Regions from separate parts of the Homo sapiens genome. Here region 2 is linked to region 1. Evidence: promoter capture Hi-C in 16 types of primary human blood cells and fetal thymus (Javierre and others, 2016). All regions are on one chromosome and are shown on one strand. The core of a region is centred on a gene start or on the middle of the fragment in contact, and the rest is flanking DNA. Distances in the headings are between cores, read along the strand shown. Region 1 holds the start of GNRHR (gonadotropin releasing hormone receptor). Region 2 overlaps CENPC (centromere protein C).

Region 1 (5,534 bases), core at 1,050-3,549:
ATTGCCCACTATTTCCCAAATCCCTTCAAGGCATTCTCTGTATGCTACACAATACACTAAGTATATATAAAGAAAGGAGTATATTACTCCATTCTTTATATAGGTAAAGCCTAAACTCCTTTTCTTGGAATATAGGCTCTCCAGATCTGAAGTCTGCCTAATTATTTACACTTTTGCTTTCACATACCCTTTGAACTTTCTCACATTGTCTTCGTGTTTGCATGTGCTGCTCCAGCTTCTAAGCATGCCCTCCCTGTCCTCATACCCCATTCCCCAGCCACTTATTACGCTATATGCTGTAGTCCCATTCAGCTCGGTTGCAACCTCTTCCCTAATGAATCAGTCCATCATTAACAAAGAAAGGGAGGGAGGGAGGGAGGAAGAGAGGAATGAAAGGAGGAAAAGGGAAGGAAGGGGAAGGGAAGGGGAAGGGAAGGGGAAGGGAAGGGAAGGGAAGGAAGGGGAAGGGAAGGAATGGGAGGAAAAGGGACAAATAATGAATGATATGCTCTAATCTTTTTCCCCTAGATATAGAAGACAAAGAGCAAAATATACTTCACTAAAATTGGATTTTTACATAAATGTTCTTTCCTTTGTTTTTTGGTTGCTGGTCCACTTACAAACACTTTTCATATTTGTATGTCTTTCCAATGGTTATCCTGTTTTGTTCATTTCAGGCATATGGCCCTGATCAGATTAACTGACATGATGTATATGCAAAGCCTTTTGAGTTCTTCAGAAAAATAAATTATCTTATTCAAGACTGATTGCTTATAAGGAACTTATTATAGCTAATATAGTAGGCACAATTTTTTTTTTGTAATTCTCCTAGATGAGTCAGAACTTAGTTTTGACGTAGGTAAAAATTTTATGGTCACAAATCTCAGGTGTGAGAAAATCTCTTTCCTTGATACTCTATATAAATAGAGGATATAAATATTTCAAGTCTGGAAGTAGTGAGAGAAGCTGGTAATTCTGGACATATAGTGACAGTCAAAAAGGAGCTCAGGTACAGGACTGGTCTAAGCTGCTCAAGATTCAGGAGACAGCCAGTACACAGAGAAGCTGAGGAGATACATAAGATATATCTAAAACATTTATCTAACCTTCTGTGGTAACAAGCTCCTTAAAGGGGCTGGATGATGTTGTGTTCACTTTTTATCACCAGCAAAGGCTAAGATAATGTATATAGTAAATATTTAGTAACTATTTATTAAATAAATAAATATTTAAGACAGAATAAACAAGTATAATAAATGAACCAATAAGAATGCACCATCTAAGTCAAAATAGCCACTTTTATCCTTAACATTGTACCTGCTTTGGCTGCTGCAGAAGCAAACTTGTTGGCATTAGACAAATCAAGCTGGTGATTTAATAAATTCCAATGTAAGTCTTACCAGTATTGATGAATAACTATCCAGCACTCACCATGAAAGTTAAAGAAACAACACAGAAAAAGTTCCTAAGTGGTCCCAATTTGAAATGATCAGATAACCTATAAAAGAACATATTCATATTATACTAACATAAACACATATAAATGCACTTACAGCAGTTACACAGTATTCTCTTCAATAACTAGTTTCCTTATGCATTAATGTGTAATAACAGCAACTACAATATTTAGATAATTATAAAAACCAAGGCAATAATTTAAAAACTGATTAACCGTTTTACTCTAACTTAAGCATGGATTGGATCAGTAAGATTGATTAATAAATTTGAATGCAGTCAGTTGGATTGATTCTAATTTAAAGTTTTAATTTGTTGTAGAATAATTTTAAGTGAATATATTTGTCCAGTGTTCGAGTGCTCAACAGTGTGTTTGAAAAGGAAAACAAAGAAATGTTTTTGAGAAATGTGTTAATTCCTTAAGACAATGGATTTTAATTGGATCTAGTTGTTTTCATTTTTCTTCATTATCATTATACATCTGTATGTTGGACAGAACACTAACACTAAATAGTTTTTAGAAAAATTTTTTAAAGTTATTTAAATCATAATATCATGACTGACTTTTAAATTCAAAATTAGGCTGTGACTATCCTTCTTCACTTAGGAAGAGTGTTGTGAAAGCCAGACCATCTGCTGAGGTGCTACAGTTACATGTGGCCCTCAGAATGCATTTGGCCTGCTCTGTTTTAGCACTCTGTTGGATTACCAATACACAAAACAAGTTAACCTTGATCTTTCACATTAAGTATCTCAGGGACAAAATTTGACATACGTCTAAACCTGTGACGTTTCCATCTAAAGAAGGCAGAAATAAAACAGGACTTTAGATTCGGTTACAATAAAATATCAGATGCACCAGAGACACAAGGCTTGAAGCTCTGTCCTGGGAAAATATGGCAAACAGTGCCTCTCCTGAACAGAATCAAAATCACTGTTCAGCCATCAACAACAGCATCCCACTGATGCAGGGCAACCTCCCCACTCTGACCTTGTCTGGAAAGATCCGAGTGACGGTTACTTTCTTCCTTTTTCTGCTCTCTGCGACCTTTAATGCTTCTTTCTTGTTGAAACTTCAGAAGTGGACACAGAAGAAAGAGAAAGGGAAAAAGCTCTCAAGAATGAAGCTGCTCTTAAAACATCTGACCTTAGCCAACCTGTTGGAGACTCTGATTGTCATGCCACTGGATGGGATGTGGAACATTACAGTCCAATGGTATGCTGGAGAGTTACTCTGCAAAGTTCTCAGTTATCTAAAGCTTTTCTCCATGTATGCCCCAGCCTTCATGATGGTGGTGATCAGCCTGGACCGCTCCCTGGCTATCACGAGGCCCCTAGCTTTGAAAAGCAACAGCAAAGTCGGACAGTCCATGGTTGGCCTGGCCTGGATCCTCAGTAGTGTCTTTGCAGGACCACAGGTAAGCCATTATACACAAACTTATTTGGATATGGTGATCATAGATTTCCTATCTAAATTTGATATAAGGTCTTATCAAAGGAAGTACTGTATTACCTTTAAGAGCTTGGGTTCTGGAAGTCAGAGAGTGAAGTTTAATTCTGGCTCTGTTCTGTTACCTTGGGCAAACTTCTTAACCTCTCTGGTTTCAGTTCCTTTACCGATAAAATGTAACATGGGGGTTAATGCTTACTTAATACTGCTTTTGTGATGAATAAATAAATAAAGTAGCTCACATAATCTCTATTATGTAGCAAATGCTTCCCCAAAAAAAATGCGATTCTCAAACTTGACCTTATCTCCATCCTATTCTTTTATCTGTTTTTCTTTTTGTTTTGGTTGACATGGCTTTAATGTTTAGTTGAGATAATTTTTAGGAATTATGAAATTTGCCTAGGTAGAAAATATTTATAATGTTTCTTATTTAGGGTTTCTTCAGTGGAAATTTTAAGAATTCTGTCACTGCAGCTTAGAGAGAATTATTCTTTGTTAGTATGTTGCTCTGCAGTTTGCAGCTAAGTGGGACTGAATATAGAAGAAAAGTAAGACATCTTGGATGTTTGGAAATCCAAATATTTCCCTAAAGTTAGCTTGAGTTTTGCTGGAGGCAGCTTATTGAGAAAGCCATATGACTGACAGAGTAGGCACAGGCCCTCCCCACAGAGGGCAATTATCTTTCCAGGTTGCCTTCACCAGAAGCAGCCTAGTTAACTGACCTGCTGAACCTGCCATTTTAACAATCAGATCCCCGAAGAAAAGGACAAATTCTTGAAAATAACAAAGAATGTTAATAGCAGATGAACAAGTTTTCTCTTGCATTTAAATGTACTACATGATAAACCCAGGATACAAGGATGTGTCAAGAAATAAATCAGAATTAACTAGGATCCTCCAAAACTTGCCTCTGAAAATGGAAATTTATCTAGACTTTTTTTTACTGACCAGATGGTTAAAAAACAACAACAACAAAAAAAAACTGCCATGCAGAACTCACTATATAGCACAAGACACTAGAAAGCTGGATAACTGTTTTATCCCATCAATTTCTCACTTTAATATTTCTTTTGAATATGTGTGTGTTTCATAATAAGAATAATGGGAAAAACTAAAATGTTTTCATTTTCTGAAGAAAAATATATGATTTATTTCACAGTGATGCAATACATAAGAATAAGTTTAGCAAATATATCACCTGAAATGAGGTGATTTAGCTAAGGCTTATGCTCTTAAAATTTTCCACATTCTTTCTTTCCACTTTTGCACCTATGGTCCAAGTTACCTGGGAGGTTGGGAGGGAGGTTGTGGTGGGAGGATCACTTGAGCCCAGGAGTTCGAGACCAGACTGGGCAATATAGGGAGGCCCCATATCAACAAATTATTAAAAAAAAAATTGCTTAAATGCTGGTCATGATGACCCGCACCTGTGGTCCCAGCTACTTGGGAGGCTGAGGTGGGAGAATCGCTTGAGCCTGGGAGGCAGAGGTTGCAGAGAGCCATGATGCATCACTGCAACTGCACTGCAATCTCGGTGACAGAATGAGAACCTGTCTCAAAAAAGAAAAAAAAAAGGCTTTGGGAAAATTTATGTAGGCCCAAATGGCCCAAATGGAGTGGAATAAAACAAAGACTTTTTTAAAAATCATCTGGCAATGAGGTGATCAGGGGGCTAGGGTGGTATCAAAGAGAATAGATAGTAAAAGAGACATTTCAAATAAAATACAAAACCTGACAACAAATTGGATTGAGAGAGTTAATAATAGAGCAGGGGGAAATAAAGTTCCAATTTTTTTAGCCTAGGAATTAAAATAGTAAAACCATTGAAATGATCCGGTGGGAAGGGGAGTGTTTGTTTGTCTGCCTGTTTGTTTGTAGAAGGGAGAGGGAAGGCAGGCTATGAGAAGTAAAATCATTTGCTTTAGGACATGACTGTTGGCAATATAAGATCTGTGTAATTACAACTATGTGTAAAGTAGTTGGTAATTTGAGGTGCTGATGTAGATTAAAATCCAAACCAAAGTAGAAATAATCCTATCTGCAATAATAACTGAAGGGCAAACTCACGATTTGATTCTTCTTAGAAGAAGTCTCCTAGAAGCTATAAATAAAATATTGCTTTATCAATCCAATTATTTTCATCTAAGTATTAACAGCAATAATAGAAAGATAATGCCAAATATTTATCTAACTTGATGTAGCAAAAAGAAAATAGGAACTTAACTTTGAATTGTTTAGGAATTTCATGTAATAGTCTGACCTCAAATACATTACTAGAGAGATTTATGTGAATGTGAGCCACAGAAAATGGTGTTATTTTATTTTGTAAAACACATGACTCATCCTTACTTTCAACAACACTTTAAAGCACTTTGCTGAAGTTTCCTGAATAACCTCACATAAGTAATGCTGATATTTACGTTAACTCTATAAGGTAAATAGGAGCTGTGTTATTATCCCTATTTCATATATAAGAGAGCTAAGGTCTAAACCTATGAAGACAATGGCATTCAAATCCTTTTGCAATAATCCAAAGTAAGAAATACACACTACACTGAAACCTTGTTTGTGTCTCTGTCTCTTTCTCTCACACATATAACTGAGAAAAAATTTTGATGAAATAAATATT
Region 2 (5,534 bases), core at 1-2,500, 240 kb after region 1:
AACGCACAATATCCCCGGCTGAGAGCACTGCACTCCTTCAAGGTAGAAAGTCAAGAGAAAAGCATCATAATATATTACCTAAGACTTTGGCAAATGACAAACATTCCCATAAACCTCACCCAGTAGAGACATCTCAGCCCTCTGATAAAACAGTACTGGATACAAGTTATGCTTTGATAGGTGAAACAGTAAATAATTATAGATCTACAAAATATGAAATGTATTCCAAGAATGCAGAAAAACCATCTAGAAGCAAAAGGACTATAAAACAAAAACAGAGAAGAAAATTCATGGCTAAACCAGCTGAAGAACAGCTTGATGTGGGACAGTCTAAAGATGAAAACATACATACATCACATATTACCCAAGACGAATTTCAAAGAAATTCAGACAGAAATATGGAAGAGCATGAAGAGATGGGAAATGATTGTGTTTCCAAAAAACAGATGCCACCTGTGGGTAAGTGTTTATATTAAATATAACCATGAGCATTATTCTACCCATTTTATGTTTTTTAATATCCTAACTTAGCTTTGGCAAGTAGGCAAAGTAAACCTAAATGAACAAAGAGCCTGAAAAGCCTATAGGTTCTTTTCTAGAACCTTTTTATTTTATATATAATTTAATTCTAACTCATATAGTTTTTGTTTATCTTGTGAGATGGCAGTATATATAGAGGGCAAAGTGAAAAGAAAAGGCTAGTAAACAAGTTAGTATCGGAAGATGAATAAGACAGAATGATAAATTATTTAGAAAATAAAAATGTTAAAAAAAATCCCAGGGTACCGTGGGACTATTTTTTATAGAGATAAAAGTCCATTCTCTTCCATCATTCACTCATGTGTCTAACAGTTGTTGAATGCCATACACTGCATTAGGCACTGTAATCACAAAAATTACTAACCCATTATTTCTACTGTTAACAAGATCATTCTGGTGGGTTCTGTAGAATAATAGATAATATACATACATGCATAGGATTAAAAGGAAGGATACAAAATTTTGATTTATCCATAATTTCTTAGGAAAAGACATATGAAGGAAGTATACTTGAAAGATGCGCTCTATAATTGTAAATATTAAACATTTTCTGAGTACCTGCTATATTCTACACACTAATTTTTACATATATTCTGTATCTAGATTGGTTAGTGAATATAATGCTCATTAATTACCATATCAGTTGTATTAATTTTCTATTGCTGTCATATGACAAGTTACTACACACTTATTGGCTTAAAACAACAAACATTGATTATCTTACAGTTCTGTGGGTCAGATGTCTCACTGGGATAAAATCAAGGTATTGGTGGGGTTTTCTTTCTTTCTGGTAGCTCTGGGAGGAAGTCTGTTTCTTTGCCTTTTCCACCCTCTTGAAACTACCTATATTCCTTGACTCATGGTCCTCCTCCACCATCTGCAAAACTAGCAATACCAGCCTTCTCATGTTGTGAATTTATCTTGCCTCTTCTTCCATCATCTCATCTCTCTGACCACAGCTTTTAAAAGAAACATAATTAGATTGGGTCAACCTGGATGATCCAAGATAATGCCTCTATTTCAGAGTTTATAATTTAATCACACTTTAAATCTCCTCTTCTTAAGTTGAAAAAAATCATTATTTCAAAACAGGAAAGCAGTAATTGCCTACTTTTACTTAGGACGTTATAGGAAGGAACTGTATTTTTTTTTCAGTTTCAGAAGATACTTATTTTTTTGGCTGAGGAGTATATAAGAGTTATCAAGCAGTGTGAAAATTTGCATTTAATAGGAAGTTAGTGCTTACTTCAGCAGCACATATAATTGACAGAAAGAGAACATGTGACTTTTAAAAATGGAGATGAAAAGGCCACAGGATAAATTTAAGAAGTTCCTGTAATTGACGGTTTTTTTATAATCTTGTGGTTTTCTGAAAACTCTTTTAGTAGATTGTGAATTGGTTTTATGGTTTTCTTTATTTTAGGAAGCAAGAAAAGTAGCACTAGAAAAGATAAGGAAGAATCTAAAAAGAAGCGCTTTTCCAGTGAGTCCAAGAACAAACTTGTACCTGAAGAAGTGACTTCAACTGTCACGAAAAGTCGAAGAATTTCCAGGCGTCCATCTGATTGGTGGGTGGTAAAATCAGAGGAGAGTAAGTATTTTTATTTAAATTGTGTTTGTTCATAGACAAAATCATTCTGTAAGGGGCATTATGTTTGATTTTATATTTCTATATAGAGAATATCATGAGGACCAAGTTAAATTGGGTCATCAAAAGGAATATTAAATCAATGGTAAAGATATTCCTTGAAGCGTTAATATATACAGTATTTTAGGAATAGGGATAATAGCTGTGGGAAAACAAAACCCCAAACCAGAAATCCCTGCTTTCATGGAGCTTGCATTCTAGTTGGGAAAGGCAATATAAATAATCCAGCTATTTTAATGTCCTGGCTGTGAGGGATACAAAGATTGATAATATGAGGTTCTGCCACCAAGGAGTTTATAATCTAAAAGATTATAGTTTATTACACATAAAAAAGTAAATTACTTGTGTTGGAGGTTCCCAAGACTACCCTCAGATTTGGTAATTTGCTAGGAGGACTGGGCATATAGTTGTACTCATGGCTGTGATTCATTACAGTGAAAGGATGCAGTGCAAATTCAGTAGAAAAAAAGTGCATGGGTTAAGTCTGGAGGAAATCAGCAGAAGCTTAAAGAGTCCTTTCCCAGTGGATTCCCACAGGAGCTGCTTAATTCCTCTAGCAATGAGTTGTGACAAATAGGCAAAATGTCTATTAGGGAAGCTCACTAGAGACTTAGTGCCCAAGATCTTTCCTGGGGGTGGTCACATAGGTACTCTCTATCTAGCAAGTACTACAATTCCAGACTCCCTGAAGGAAGGCAATATTTGCCTAAACCATATTTTTTGCATAAGCAGTTTAGGCCCACAACACCACGTTTGCCAATTAGGAAATGACGGGAACAATCCTGAAATTTAAGTTTACAGGGCTAACTTTGAAAGCAGGCCCTTTTAAGGGTAGTATACTCAGACCTGCTTTGCTAACTTTTTTCTGCACAATATGAAACATTTATTGTTTTGGGAGAATTGTCCCTTTTTAAAGAAAGTGATCCTGAAAAGATTGGTGGATCATAAGGTAGCATTCACATACACAAATACTATTGACTTTGGGGCATTTAGATTAATAAGTGAATGATTAGTACAACTATGGCATTGTATATGTGAGGCCTTATTGCTATGAATTATTAAATCATTGAGATTCTTGATGGATAGCAGCAAGTATTTATTTTGTTGCAGCCTTTGGATTTTGGAGTGAGATCTGAGTTCAAAGTATCACTCTTCCACTTTGAGTAGATTGCTTTGTTTAGTTTCTCATTCTGTAACATGATTACCTCATTGAGTTTTTATAAGGTTTAAATGCAATTAGCATAGTAGGTGGCATATGTTAGTATTGAAGTGTTAAATAATACTGTTACTGCTTTGGGGAACTCACTTTTCTGCCCCAGGTTGCCTGAAATGCTAAGTACTATGTGGCAGATGAATACATAAACAGATGGGTAAATAAATTCTTACAGAACTTGGATAAATGTGCTAGATCTCTGAAACTATCAAAAAACACTTATTTAAGAGTCCTGAAATAGATGTTGGATTTTTGATCAAGCTGGGAGTCGAAAAAGTGGAGGAATCTTTATATATCATATAGTCTAAACTCTCATCTGATGGAAGAAGAAACTGAAGTCTGAAGTTAAGAAGAACAACTTGACCTGCCCCCAGCCTGCCTGTCGTACGTGTGACACTGTTGCCCTTCCATATATATGAAGAAATGTATATGGAGTACTTGCCATGGGGCAGGAATGAGGTAAAGTAGGACCAGGACTAGGGTAAGACAATGAGACACTAGGGTGAAAAATTTAAGGCAGTCAGTCACAGGATTGTATCAGTTCGGGCTCTGTACTTGCACAGACCTGAAAATGAGTACCTTCTTGAATTTTCCAGCTGAGGCTACTCTTGCTTCACCATAGTCCTGCCCCTGTCATTAGGCATTGGGAATATACATAGATAAAATACCAATCAATTACTTGAGGTCAAGGAGTTGTTAGTCTGCTGGAGGAGAGAAGTAGAGATAAGTAAACAGTCGTATGTGTGATAGCAAGCTACCTAAGACTTGGAAATTAGGGAAAGCTTCCTGAAGGATGAACTAGGAGTTAGCTAAGTGATTGAGTGGAGTAAGGAGGAAGTTATGGAATGTTTTAAGTAGAAGTAGCTTGTGCAGAGATCTGGAGCAGAGAGCTTGATCTTTTCTTTCTTTAATTTAGTGTGCTTTAGAATTGTCTGGGGGGCCTATTAAGGCACAGGTTACTGGGCCCTGCTCTGCAAAGTCTTTGATTCACTGGGGTCTGAGGTGAGGCATGATAATTTACATTTCAAATTCCCAGATAATGCTGATCTTGCTGGTCTAGAGACTGCCTTTGGACAACCAGTGCTTTAGAGAAACTGTAGATTGTTCATTACTGATGGCTTTTTTTGGTTTGTTTGTTTGGAGGGGGGTTTTGGGAATTGTGGTTTATGAAATAAGCAAATCTAGATGTAGATATGAATTGATGTTGAAGTATTTGGACTTCATCCTGAAGCTATAGATAATAACTAAAATACTTTAATTAAGCAGAGTTGTAATGATCCAGTTTTTGTTTTCCAAAGGTGATTCTTGCAGCAGTGTAGGGAATGGATTGAAGAAAAACAAGGCTAGGGAGGGGGAGATTAGTAAAGAGACTGTTTTAATAATCCAGATATGAAATAATGAGGACTTCTACTAATGACAGGAGGGAGAGCTTGAAAGATTTGAAAGGCATTAATAAAGTAGAATTGATGGGATTTAGGGCGTGATTGTGGATAGGAGTAGTAGTCTTGCATGACTCAAATTTCTGATTTAGATATCTGGATAGAATAGGTAGTTGTATTTTTCATTAAGATAGGAAATAAAGCAAGAGAGGCAGATATAGGGGAGAGCAGTAGATGGATATTATAGGTGTCAGCATATAGATAGTAATTAAAGCTCTGGGTAGATAAGTCCGTCAATGAAAGTATATGGAGTGAAAAGCTGAAGCTGTCACCTTGGGGAATATCAGATATTAAGGATGGCCAGAAGGGCAGTGGGCAGAGCCAGAGAGTGTTTCTTGAAGCCTGTGACAGATTTGAAGGGCCTGTTTCATATATCTATAAACTGAAGAGCTACATTGTTTAAAGAATTTAATTTGGAAATAAATTTAGCCTGAGATGTGTGTGTGTGTGTGTGTGTGTGTGTGTGTGTGTGTGTGTGTGTGTGTATGTGTATATGTTTATATGCAAATATAAATGCTGTTGGTATTTCAGTGAGCCAAATCATCTGGACAAACTTACTAACTTTAGGTTATCATTGAATCCTTCAGGTCCTGTTTATAGCAATTCTTCAGTAAGAAATGAATTACCAATGCATCACAATAGTAGCCGAAAATCTACTAAGAAAACAAATCAGTCATCTAAGAATATTAGGAAA

The links. Contacts are between HindIII fragments. The CHiCAGO score rates a contact against its expected background, and 5 or more counts as called.
Region 2: a fragment that was not itself captured here is called in contact with the fragment with the promoter of GNRHR in region 1 in 1 of 17 cell types (total B cells); the score reaches 6.0 in total B cells.

The regions. Positions count from the first base shown.
Region 1 is chr4:67,751,153-67,756,686 of GRCh38, reverse strand. It overlaps GNRHR (gonadotropin releasing hormone receptor), which reads left to right and starts at 2,299. Exons shown (of 3, transcript NM_000406.3): 1 at 2,299-2,873. The coding sequence starts at 2,352. The HindIII fragment of the contact is 5,914 bases long and covers 1-2,716 here.
Region 2 is chr4:67,508,999-67,514,532 of GRCh38, reverse strand. It overlaps CENPC (centromere protein C), which reads left to right. Exons shown (of 19, transcript NM_001812.4): 8 at 1-459; 9 at 1,964-2,131; 10 at 5,428-5,534. Among named protein-coding and RNA genes, the nearest start is that of CENPC, 34 kb to the left of the region's middle. The HindIII fragment of the contact is 2,888 bases long and covers 1-2,694 here.